Regions from separate parts of the Homo sapiens genome. Here all the other regions are linked to region 1. The links are contacts of gene promoters, found by promoter capture Hi-C in blood cells and fetal thymus (Javierre and others, 2016). All regions are on one chromosome and are shown on one strand. The core of a region is centred on a gene start or on the middle of the fragment in contact, and the rest is flanking DNA. Distances in the headings are between cores, read along the strand shown.

What was found. The method cuts DNA at HindIII sites, captures the fragments that hold promoters and counts their contacts. A CHiCAGO score of 5 or more calls a contact.
Region 2: a fragment that was not itself captured here is called in contact with the fragment with the promoter of EMILIN3 in region 1 in 3 of 17 cell types (megakaryocytes, erythroblasts and M1 macrophages); the score reaches 6.3 in megakaryocytes.
Region 3: a fragment that was not itself captured here is called in contact with the fragment with the promoter of EMILIN3 in region 1 in 2 of 17 cell types (megakaryocytes and erythroblasts); the score reaches 6.3 in megakaryocytes.

What each region holds. Positions count from the first base shown.
Region 1 is chr20:41,365,004-41,368,303 of GRCh38, reverse strand. It overlaps EMILIN3 (elastin microfibril interfacer 3), which reads left to right and starts at 1,486. Exons shown (of 4, transcript NM_052846.2): 1 at 1,486-1,836; 2 at 3,147-3,269. The coding sequence starts at 1,670. RefSeq lists an enhancer at 2,248-2,749. The HindIII fragment of the contact is 20,041 bases long and covers 1-3,300 here.
Region 2 is chr20:41,149,286-41,152,585 of GRCh38, reverse strand. All of the region lies in intron 1 of PLCG1 (phospholipase C gamma 1), which reads right to left. Among named protein-coding and RNA genes, the nearest start is that of PLCG1-AS1, 13 kb to the right of the region's middle. The HindIII fragment of the contact is 1,108 bases long and covers 1,208-2,315 here.
Region 3 is chr20:41,173,910-41,177,209 of GRCh38, reverse strand. It overlaps PLCG1 (phospholipase C gamma 1), which reads right to left. Exons shown (of 32, transcript NM_002660.3): 30 at 3,199-3,287; 31 at 2,899-3,086; 32 at 1-2,743. The coding sequence ends at 2,701. Among named protein-coding and RNA genes, the nearest start is that of MIR6871, 6.5 kb to the right of the region's middle. The HindIII fragment of the contact is 9,247 bases long and covers 1-3,300 here.

The sequences.
Region 1 (3,300 bases), core at 237-2,736:
GTAGAGGCTGGAGTGATGCTGCTACAAAGAATCCTTGACCAAAGAACGCCAGAGATTGCCAGGAACCACCAGTGGCTGGAAGAGGCAAGGAAGGCTTCTCCCCAGAGCCACTGGAGGGGGCATTGCCCTGCTGGCCCATGGATTTTGGAGTTAGCCTCCAGAAATGTGCAAGAATACATTTCTGTGTGTTAAGCCACTGAGTCTGTGGCTGTTACCACAGCCCTGAGAAACTCACACAACCTACACCTGGAAGCTGGATTCCTTCAGCTTCTGTGTTCTGATTCCAAAGCCTGGGGGAAAGCAGGATGGGCCTAGCTGGGGTCAGATGTCCGCCCCACAGAACCCAAAAGCCACTAAAGCTAAGGGCAGGAAATAGATGTGGGTTTCGGAGCTGCCCCTTCCAGTATCCTTGATAACCATCACCCTATCCAAAAGGCATTAATTCATATCTCAAGGTCAATTTGGAGGGAGGTCTCTCCAAGCAAGCCCCAGAGTTCTGTACACCTATCAGCTCCTGGGGCAAAGACACAGACGGCTGTAGCCACCGGTGTGGATGAGACAAGGCCAGGAAAGTACCGCTCTGATGACAGAATCAGAAGGACTCTGTGCAGGTTAGAGAGTTAGCAAGGTGATACTGAATGAGGACGACGATAAAACCCAACTCTTGGGTTCCAAGAGTCAACTTCACAAGCAAAATGTGGACGACGCCTGGCTTCACCGCGGCAGTGCCTTGTGAGAAAGACCTGAGGATTTTCTCTGACCAGCCGGCTTAGAGCTTCAGTTGCACGAAAAGCACAGCACTTTTGGCTGGGCTGGGGCGGTGATAGGCCTTTCGGGCTCGGTGCAACCCATACCTAAGACAGAGAGGCAACACAGGCGCCTCCAGAGAACCAGAGGTGCAACCGGGCCACCAGGCTACGTGGCAGAGGTTGCGGGGTAAGGGGGAGGTGGGATGCCTGGGGAGAGGTCAGCGGAGTTATCAAACTAAGGTTCCCGGGCAATGATGGGGCCAGGAGGCAGAGCGAGCAAACGGGGATGATCTGGGGTCTATTCCAAAGAGGTGGCGGGGGAGGTGGTGCTGCTGTGCCCCCAGTCACGGCCATCTCGGCTCCAGAGCCCTGGAGAGCAGTTCCCGGGTTCACACGGACTCTGAAGACAAGCGTATCCTGAGGGTGGACGACTCCTGGAAAGTCCACGCCCAGGCTGGCCTCAGGGGTCCGCTTCTCTGCGTCTCGCCCCGTGCCCGCAGGCGACAGAGTGGCTGGTGTGCTCGGGGGGCCTCCCAGGGCGCGGCGGCCTGCGCCCCTGCCACCTGGGGCTGCTCCCTTTGGAACCTCCTGTTCGCAGGCGGCTCCTCGGCCGTCCGCTCGGAGCTGGGGCGAGGGGCTGGCGGCGGCGAGCGGCGCGGCCCCAAGTTTATGCTAATCCGCAAAGAGCCCGCCTCCCGCCTCCCCTCCGCGGCCCCAGCCGCTAGCAGCGCCGGCCACTCCGCGGGACGCAGCCGCCGCGAAGCGCCAGGCGGCCGGGCCAGCGAGCTCGGGGGCCGAAGGGGACCCCGGGACCCTCGGGGCGGGACCCGGGCCGACCAGCGGCGGGGGCGGCGCGGCGCTGCAGGCGGACACCCGGCGGGGGGCACCGCGCGGGGCCGGGCAGAGGCGCGGGGGCCGCTATGGGCCGCCGCCGCCTGCTCGTCTGGCTGTGCGCCGTCGCGGCGCTGCTCTCGGGGGCGCAGGCCAGGGGCACCCCGCTCCTGGCGCGGCCTGCGCCGCCCGGTGCCTCCCGCTACAGTCTCTACACGACGGGATGGCGCCCGCGGCTGCGCCCGGGGCCGCACAAGTAAGCGCGGGCGGGCGGCGGGCGGGAAGAGGGAGGGATGGGCCCGCGCGCGTCGCCGCTCCCACCTGCCCGCACCCGCGGGGGGCGTCGAGGCCCCGGGCACCCCGAGGCCGCTGCACAGAGGGGGCGGCGCCCGGGGCCGAGCCCCTGCCCAGGCGAGCGCCCTACGCTCCGGGAGGTTGCGGGGCTGGCGAGGAAAAAGGAACCGAGGGGGCCTGGCGCGGCGGCTTGGGATCCTGGCAGTGCCAGCGGAAACCTTTCCAGCGAAGTAACATTTTCCAGCTGCGCTGTGTGCAGACTCCGGGCGAGCGGACCAGGTGGAGGGAGAGGAGGAAAGGCGGTCCGCGCGCTGAGCACGCGGGGCTCCCCCGCCCCGGGCCTCCCTTCTCTCCCCTGGCCCGGCCAGGTAGGAGATAGAGCTGCGCATCCGGGCGGCCGCTGCCCTCTCGCAGTCAGCCTGGCCCCAGCAACCCCATGGGAGCCCCAGCGTGGCCGGGCTGCAGAGCCAGAGCGGGCTCCTGGCTCCGGGCCTGTGCTGTGGCACAGCCGTCCACAGCGGTCGGCTTATGCCAGGCAGCCACCTCCTCAGCCCTTGTGGCTCATCAAGGAGCCTGCTTTCCCCGCCTCAGCTTCTGGTGTTTCGTGGGCAGTGGCTTGCGAACTGGCCTCAGTTAAGTGGGCTGGAGGCTCTGCCTGGGGTGCTGGCTGAACTTGAATTCTAGCTGAATTTGAGAGCTGTTGTAGGAGGAAGAGTACCGACACTCAGTGGGCCTGGGTACATCACAGCGAGCCTCCTGGAGGAGGTGGTACAAGAACTGCTCTGAGAGTAAGGGAACAGGACCAAAGGCAGGGGCTGCAAAACTACGAGGAGAGGTGGATTTCCCCGGGAGCCAGGCAGGGAGGAAGGACAAGACATGGTGCTCTCAAAGGAGTCACTGAGTGGGGACTCGGAAGCCTTAAATGCCAAGATAAGGAGTTTGGAATCAGCGAAGGATGGGGGGGTGTGGCAGGGCACTTGAGGGAGAATCCGGGCTGGCCTCTTCCCCACGCAGGGAGGGGCAGCCACATCAGGCTCCTGGTTCCAAATAGTGCTTAGCCCAGGGGCCACCCATCACGGAGGCTGGAATCAGAGACCAGCAGCGGGGCTGGACCCCAGACCAAGGGCGTTGGCTCCCAGGGACACAGAGAACAGACAGAAGAGACATGGGAGTTTGGAGTCCTGCTGAGGCCCACAGATGGAGGTGGGAGGGTAGGCGCCTCTGTGGGCCTCGCTCAGCCAGATATTCCAGGGGTGCCATTTTCTCCTGTAGGGCCCTCTGTGCCTATGTGGTGCACAGGAATGTGACCTGCATCCTACAGGAGGGAGCGGAGAGCTACGTAAAGGCTGAATACCGGCAGTGTAGATGGGGGCCCAAGTGCCCCGGGACAGTCACGTAAGTGCACTCCTCACCTACACACTTGGAA
Region 2 (3,300 bases), core at 512-3,011, 220 kb after region 1:
AGATGCTCAAAAATGGTACCAGAAAGATGGTATCAAGGATGGCTTCCTGGAAGAGGTGGCACAGTGGGCCACAGAGGCTGAGGGGCTACAACAAATACTGAAAATGCAGTGGTCAGTGAGGTAACAACGGGAACAGAAAAAGCAGCAGCAGGCATAGTTGGGGGGAATGTGACCCCTGGGGGCAAATACAGTCTGGAAACACTGGGAAGTCCTTACATAAAGATTCCTATAGCCAGTGGGAACCACGGGAAGCTAACAGAGCTTTGGGAAAAACAGTAAAAGCAGCAGGATGCCGAGCACCCACGCCCTGCTGGGCCCGAAGCCAAGACCATGAGGAGATTCAGGAGAGTGGTCCCAGGGGTCAGAAGAGGTGTGTAGATCTCCAAAATGACCTCTCACCAATCACCCTCTCCACATGTAGTCTGTGGCAAACAGATGAGTCCCTCCCAGTTCCCCACTCCCATACCAAAGAAAATACACAGCCAGGACCTAGGAGAGCATTAATGGAGCTAAGCCTTCTCCACCAGAGGATGCTGAAAGATGGACAAAGAAAAGTTCCAGCAGAAGTGAGTATCATCTGGGCCACTTCTGGCCCCCTACCTCAGTCACCCCATCCCCAGGTTCCTATACAACTCCCTGTGGGGTACGGCAGGCACTGCACTGCAGATCCCCCTTCACAGGCAGCCAGAGGCACAGGGGCTCTGCACCCATCAGGACCATACGGCTTTGGCAAGGTTTTTGCAGCTCTGAAGGAAAAGGATGGAGGTAGCCAAAGAAGAGACAAAGATAGGACCTGGACACAGGTGGGAAGGAAGCCTGATGCAATAGTAGCCAGGTCACAGGATGGTCAGCATTTCCAAGCTGGCTGCATATGCCCAAAGCCTGTGGAAAGGGTGAGAGTTCTCCTCTCCCTCTCATTCCTCCCTCTTCCTGAGACTATAATATTCCTCCTCCTGCCTCTCAGTAGAAACATACTCACAAATCTGAGGTTTCCCTGAGCACATCTGGCTGCCACCAAAGGAAGGTCAAAGTGGAGGGGTGGGTAGCTATCCCTTTCCATTTTACAAACAAGGATCTGGGTTCAGGGACTTCTGAGGTCACAGGGTTATATGGCAAAGGGAAGGCGATGGTGGGGCTTACTGTCCTTCCCATTACTGTGCAGCAGCTGCCTTCAAACCAGACCCGCGGGCAGCGAGTTGGACAAGCTTGGTCTAGATTCTAGACAAATCTCTTTGAAACAATGAGGAAACAGAGGGTCCAAAGGGTCTTGTCATGGTCATATGGTGAGTCATGGCAGAACTGGGACACTCTGCAGTGTCCCCACAGCAGCTGCTATCCCTGACACTGGGTATACAGAGAAACACAGAGCAGCCACAGCCAGCCTTTGTACCATCCAGGCAGGCAGCCCTCTTCCCTAGGACTCTAAATTAATCTCACCTATTTCAGAGGTAAGAACAGAATCCAAAGGAAGGAAGGGAAAGGAGGTCCCACCCAGAGAAATTAAAGCTGGAAGAGCACTCAGCAGTGATCTATTCGGCTTATGCAGTCATTCATTCCATCATCTGATCAAACATTTATCGGGCATCTATCTACTCCATGTCAGGCCCTGGGCTGGGTCCTAGGGAAACAGAGATCAATAAGGCATTTGAGTTCCTGCCTTTGAGAAAACCCCTGCCTGATGGAGGAAACAGATGGGGAAGCAGATAACTATGAGGTCATGCAACGAGTAGAACAACAGGGAGGTGTCTGTGGAGCTGAGTGTGTGTAGAGCAATGTCTTGGAGTGCTCTGTAAAAGCCAGGTCTGGAGGGCTGACAAGCACACATTGGGCAGAGGGGTTCATGGAAACCAAGACAGAGGTGCAGGAGTCCACTAAGTTCCACAAACAGGGCATTCAGAGTATCATGGATGAGAAGGGAGGGAAGATGGCCTATACCAAGCCTTGACTGCCACAGTAGGGAAAGGTGGCTTTCCCCAACTTTTCTGCACAAGCCCAGAAGATTCTCCAGGCAGCCATGGGTCAGCCTCTGTGTCAGGAGTCTAGTGTGCTCCAAACTCTGCCTCCCTTGCAGACTGATGCTGCCTAAGTTCTTTCTAGATGGCCTGTGTATGCCAGGCTCCTAGCTACAGGAGAGAGACTGGGGACCCACCAGGGCCATGTCTCAGGGATGCCCAGGACCTCAAAAGTCCCTCATAAAATGCTCCCCCACATAGTACACTCAGGCTACTTGGAGAACCAGAGCAATGGGTATAAGTCACTTTTAAAATTTTTCTTTATATTTTATAGAGATGGGGTCTCACTATGTTGCCCAAGCTTGTCTCAAACTCCTGGCCTCAAGTGATCCTCTCACTTCGGCCTCCCAAAGTGCTGGGATTACAGGTGTGAGCCACCATGCCTGGCCCATAAGTCACTCTGTTGTCCAGGCTGGAGTGCAGTGGCACCAACAGGGCTCACTGTAGCCTCTACCTCCCCAGGTGCAGGTGATCCTCCCACCTTGGCCTTTCAGGTAGCTGGGACTACAGGCAAACCACAACGCCAGGCTGATTATATTTTTTGCAGAGATGGTGTTTTGCCATGTTGCCCAGGCTGTTCTTGAACTCCTGGGCTCAAATGACTCGCCAGTCTTGGCCTCCCAAAGAGCTGGGATTACAGGCATGAATCACCGTGCCTGACCCATAAATCACTTATCTATGGTCCTCCTTCCTGACACCTCAGAGCAATCAACATGGTTGATCACGCCCTCTCTCCTTGAAGCTCTGCCCTTGATTTCTCCTGCACAACCTTGCCTGGTTTTCATGCTTCTTTGTGCGCTACAGGCCTACCTGCATTTAGCAATGGCCTTGGTCAAGGCTCAGGTCAAGGTCCTCTCTTCCGGTGCTCTGCCTTCTTCCTCATCAGTGTCAGCCATGCCCACACCCTTAATTACCTCCTATGTACAGATAATTCACAAACAGGTCTCTAGCCTAGTCCTCTCCTCTTAAGCTTCAGATCCTTCAATTCAGCTGCCTACTTGCTATCCCCACTCTTCATCTCAAAACGTCTCAAAGACAACTCCTCAAAACCAAACACTGTCTTCTCTCTCTCACCAGAACCAAGGCCTCTTGCCATACCCCCTGGGTCAGCTAAGAGCATCACCATTCAAACAGGTACCCAAACTCCAAACTTCAGAATGATCCTTCGCATCTCCTTTTCTCTCACCAGCCCCCAATCCAGCCCTCTGAGAAGTCCCACTGGCTTTATTATTCAAAATTAACCATACGTTCTGAGCACCTACATGAGAGACATTAAACTAGATACTTG
Region 3 (3,300 bases), core at 332-2,831, 190 kb after region 1:
ACTTGTCCCTGGTCTGTCAGCCAGAAGGTTCTACTGGTGATGGCAGGAGAACAAGGAGCCTGCAAGGGAGCCCATCTACCTTCTGGTACCACTGACTTCCCTCTCCCGGCCCTGCCTGCTCTTTTGGTTTGTGCTGCCAAAATCAGGGTTTTTCAACCCTTGTTACTCATTTAAATCACCTTGAGAGGTTTTGAACAATACCTATGCTAAGGCCCCGGGTACCAGTATTTTTCAGAAGCTCCCCAAGTGGTGCTAATGTGCTGTTAGGGTTGAGACTCCACAGGTCATAACCCTGAGCTGTCGCACTGTAGGGACACGGCCTGCATGCATGGGATGGGGCAAACAACTCCTGATGCCAAAGCATTCGGCCCCAAGTAAGGGTCTTCCCCACCAACAAACACTCTGCCTTCTGGGTCAATCAACATTTGTCAGGTCTGGAGGAATCTTGAAGTGAAAATGATCTTTAAATTTGCTTGAGAGTTGGCACGTTTTCCACTAGGAAGAACAATCAAAACATTTGCAGTGAGGCAAAGGCAATGTCTTACAGAGCCCAAGAGAGGTGAGCCTCAGGTCTACAAAGCTGCCTTAAGAAAGGCAGAGCTGTCTGTTCCCCAGGTTGTGTTCCAGAAAGACACTTGTTCAGCAAATAGAGATACGTATTGATGAAAACTAAAAGGGTCAACACTAACAAACACGCCAAGGACGTCCTAACCAACGTGGATGGGCCCTAACAGAAGGGCCTACACAGTCCTCTTCCTTCTCTGATAGGAAACCTTTCTCTCCAGGCCATAAAAACCTAGAGAGGAAACATGGATCATGAGGGCCCAGGTGAATTCCCACCCACCACCTTCTTGTGTATGGGAAAAAGCCACCCTCCTCTCTATGAACTGGGACTGTGAAGCTGTAAAAGAAAGTCACACAAGAACCTGAGCACTATCGCTGTTTGATACTGGCTATCATCAGTTCATGTCATCCACGGAACCGGATCTATCTTAAATTTTTTGTGTGGCGTCATTTTTGTTCCATCCCAGCACAGCCAACTATGGAAACAGAGCTTCAGGAAGAGAAGGGCCTTTCAACTGTGTTGAAAGGGCCCAGAGATTTCAGCTGCCAAGTCCTAGAGGCAATCAGAATGGCACCTGGCAGTGTTAACGAACTGAATGCAACATTTTTGAAAGGAGAGGTTTCTGTGGAACTGGAAAGGGGCTCTGGTTGTTTCCAGCTCACCACCAAAACTGGCTGGCCACAAAGAACCCAGGCAGGATGTACTCTGCTCAGACACACCCTCAGAGGGTGGGCAGGAGAGAGTGGACCCACAACTCCTGTTAGCCCAGAGGAGGGGTTACAGCTCTTGCTGCTTAACCTGAGAAATTTCCAGAAATTTCCTACCTGCTTCTACTGCAGAATAATCATCTGGCGACTGTTTCTAGTGAGCATGTCCCATGCAACAGGCTTTCCTGAGCCCCCGAAAGAGCATACAAGTCAAAGGAAAAAGGACATGAGGATGATTTATTTGGCAGTCAGATCTTAAGAGGGCAGCAGAACTAGCAAATGGCCAACCCTGAGCCCAAATGTGGGCAGTAGGTTTGTGTGTGCTGAATGCTGGCTATGCTATGAGGCACCTTTGCGCCCACGGGCCTGGACCCCGGCCTCTGTCCTCAGAGGTGAGGGCTGCCTTTCTAACCTTCCCATCTCCATCCCTGGATCTTTTTACCAGTTAGAAGCTGCAGCAAGGATGGCAGCTTCATTCAGCACCTAACTGCCTGTACCCCACCCACCCAGGAGTCAGGCAACTCCTCAATCCCTTTTTCATTCCTCAGGGAAAGCATACTGAGTCTTCTTTGACTTAAAAACAAAAAACCTCACCAAAATAGGCTCTGCTATTTCTTCTCTTCCCACCCTGGCCCGCCCCCCATTCCTGACAGTGCCTTACATCACAAACTAAGTCCTCTTAACACAGCAGGCAGCCCACCTGCCACTCTCCTCTCCAAGGTTTCCCTACAGGGGTGAGGAGCAGGAGGAGTAAATAACTTAGTTACAATACCATTGAGACGAAAAATAATACTGCTATTTTTAACATGATCCCCTGTATCTTTCAGGCTGGGTCATGTTCCCAGCCATGGGCAATGTGCCCTTGTGCTGTGTCCTCCTCCTCAGGCAGGGCAGAACCCTTCTCCATGCAGGCCCTACATTCCTCTGCCCTGGCTCCAGGGCCAAACTGCAGGGGCATCTAGCTTCTCACCCTGCCCAGCTGTGGTTTTAAAGCTACAGGACAATGTAAACTTTGTTTCCCTGGCCCAGCAAGGCTCCTCCTCCTCCTCCACTCTTAGGAATGTCAGTAGCTCCTTGGAGTCTCCTGTGCCACTGGCTGAGGCAGCCTCTCTCTCCAAGGGGCTTCGGCCATGGTCCTGGCCCCACAAGATGGAAGGATCCATCTCCAGAAGTCAGGGCCAGATGTGTGTGCTTAATGCGAAACACAGTACAGTTTTTGCCTTCATCCAGAGCTGGGGCATGGAGGCCCAAAACAGTAATAACATCTCATTAATGGCTTGGTTTCTGTCTAGCATTCACTGCTGGAATCCAGGCTTCAGGCTGCGAGACCCGGAAGGCCGCCACAGGGGGCTGCTTCCAAAGAACCCAGTTCGCGGCATTCTACAAGGCGCACAGCACCTGCTGCTCTCCAACGAGGCTGGGGTACAACTAGAGGCGGTTGTCTCCATTGACCCGAGTCCTTCTTGGGGCCCTGGACAGAAGGGAAGAGTGTCCTTACTGGCAGGCAGGGCCTTGCAGCCCAATGCCAGACAATATTACAACTTTTCTACCCAGGAGAAAGAAACACTGAAGAAGGAGGACCTAGCCACTGCCTTCCTGGCTCTAGCACCCCTCCATCTTCCTCACCTTCGTTCTCGACTGTCAAAATGGTCTGCGAGATGCTCCTGGGAGATGCGGAAGTCCTCAAACGGCTGCTGGTAGCGGGATTCAAAGGAGCCTTCCCGGGCTCGGCCATGAAACAGCTGGCCTGAGGCATCTGAGCCCCGCTCCCGCAGGGACGTACCACTGAAGGGACTGAGGTCACCATTCTCCTGCTTCAACGAAGCCAGGTGCACAAGAGGGTCAATGACTCCTCTGCACTTCTAGAGGCTGCTGCCTGGCTCTCCTCCCACCTACCCCAGGCCAGCCCACCCCTGCTGCAGATACCTTGGCAGGGAAAATGTCAATCTTGATCAGCAGGGAGGCCAACTCCAGGTCCTCACTGTAGTTGTTCTTCAAAGGCACTGCTCTGTATCCTAGGAGGAGGAA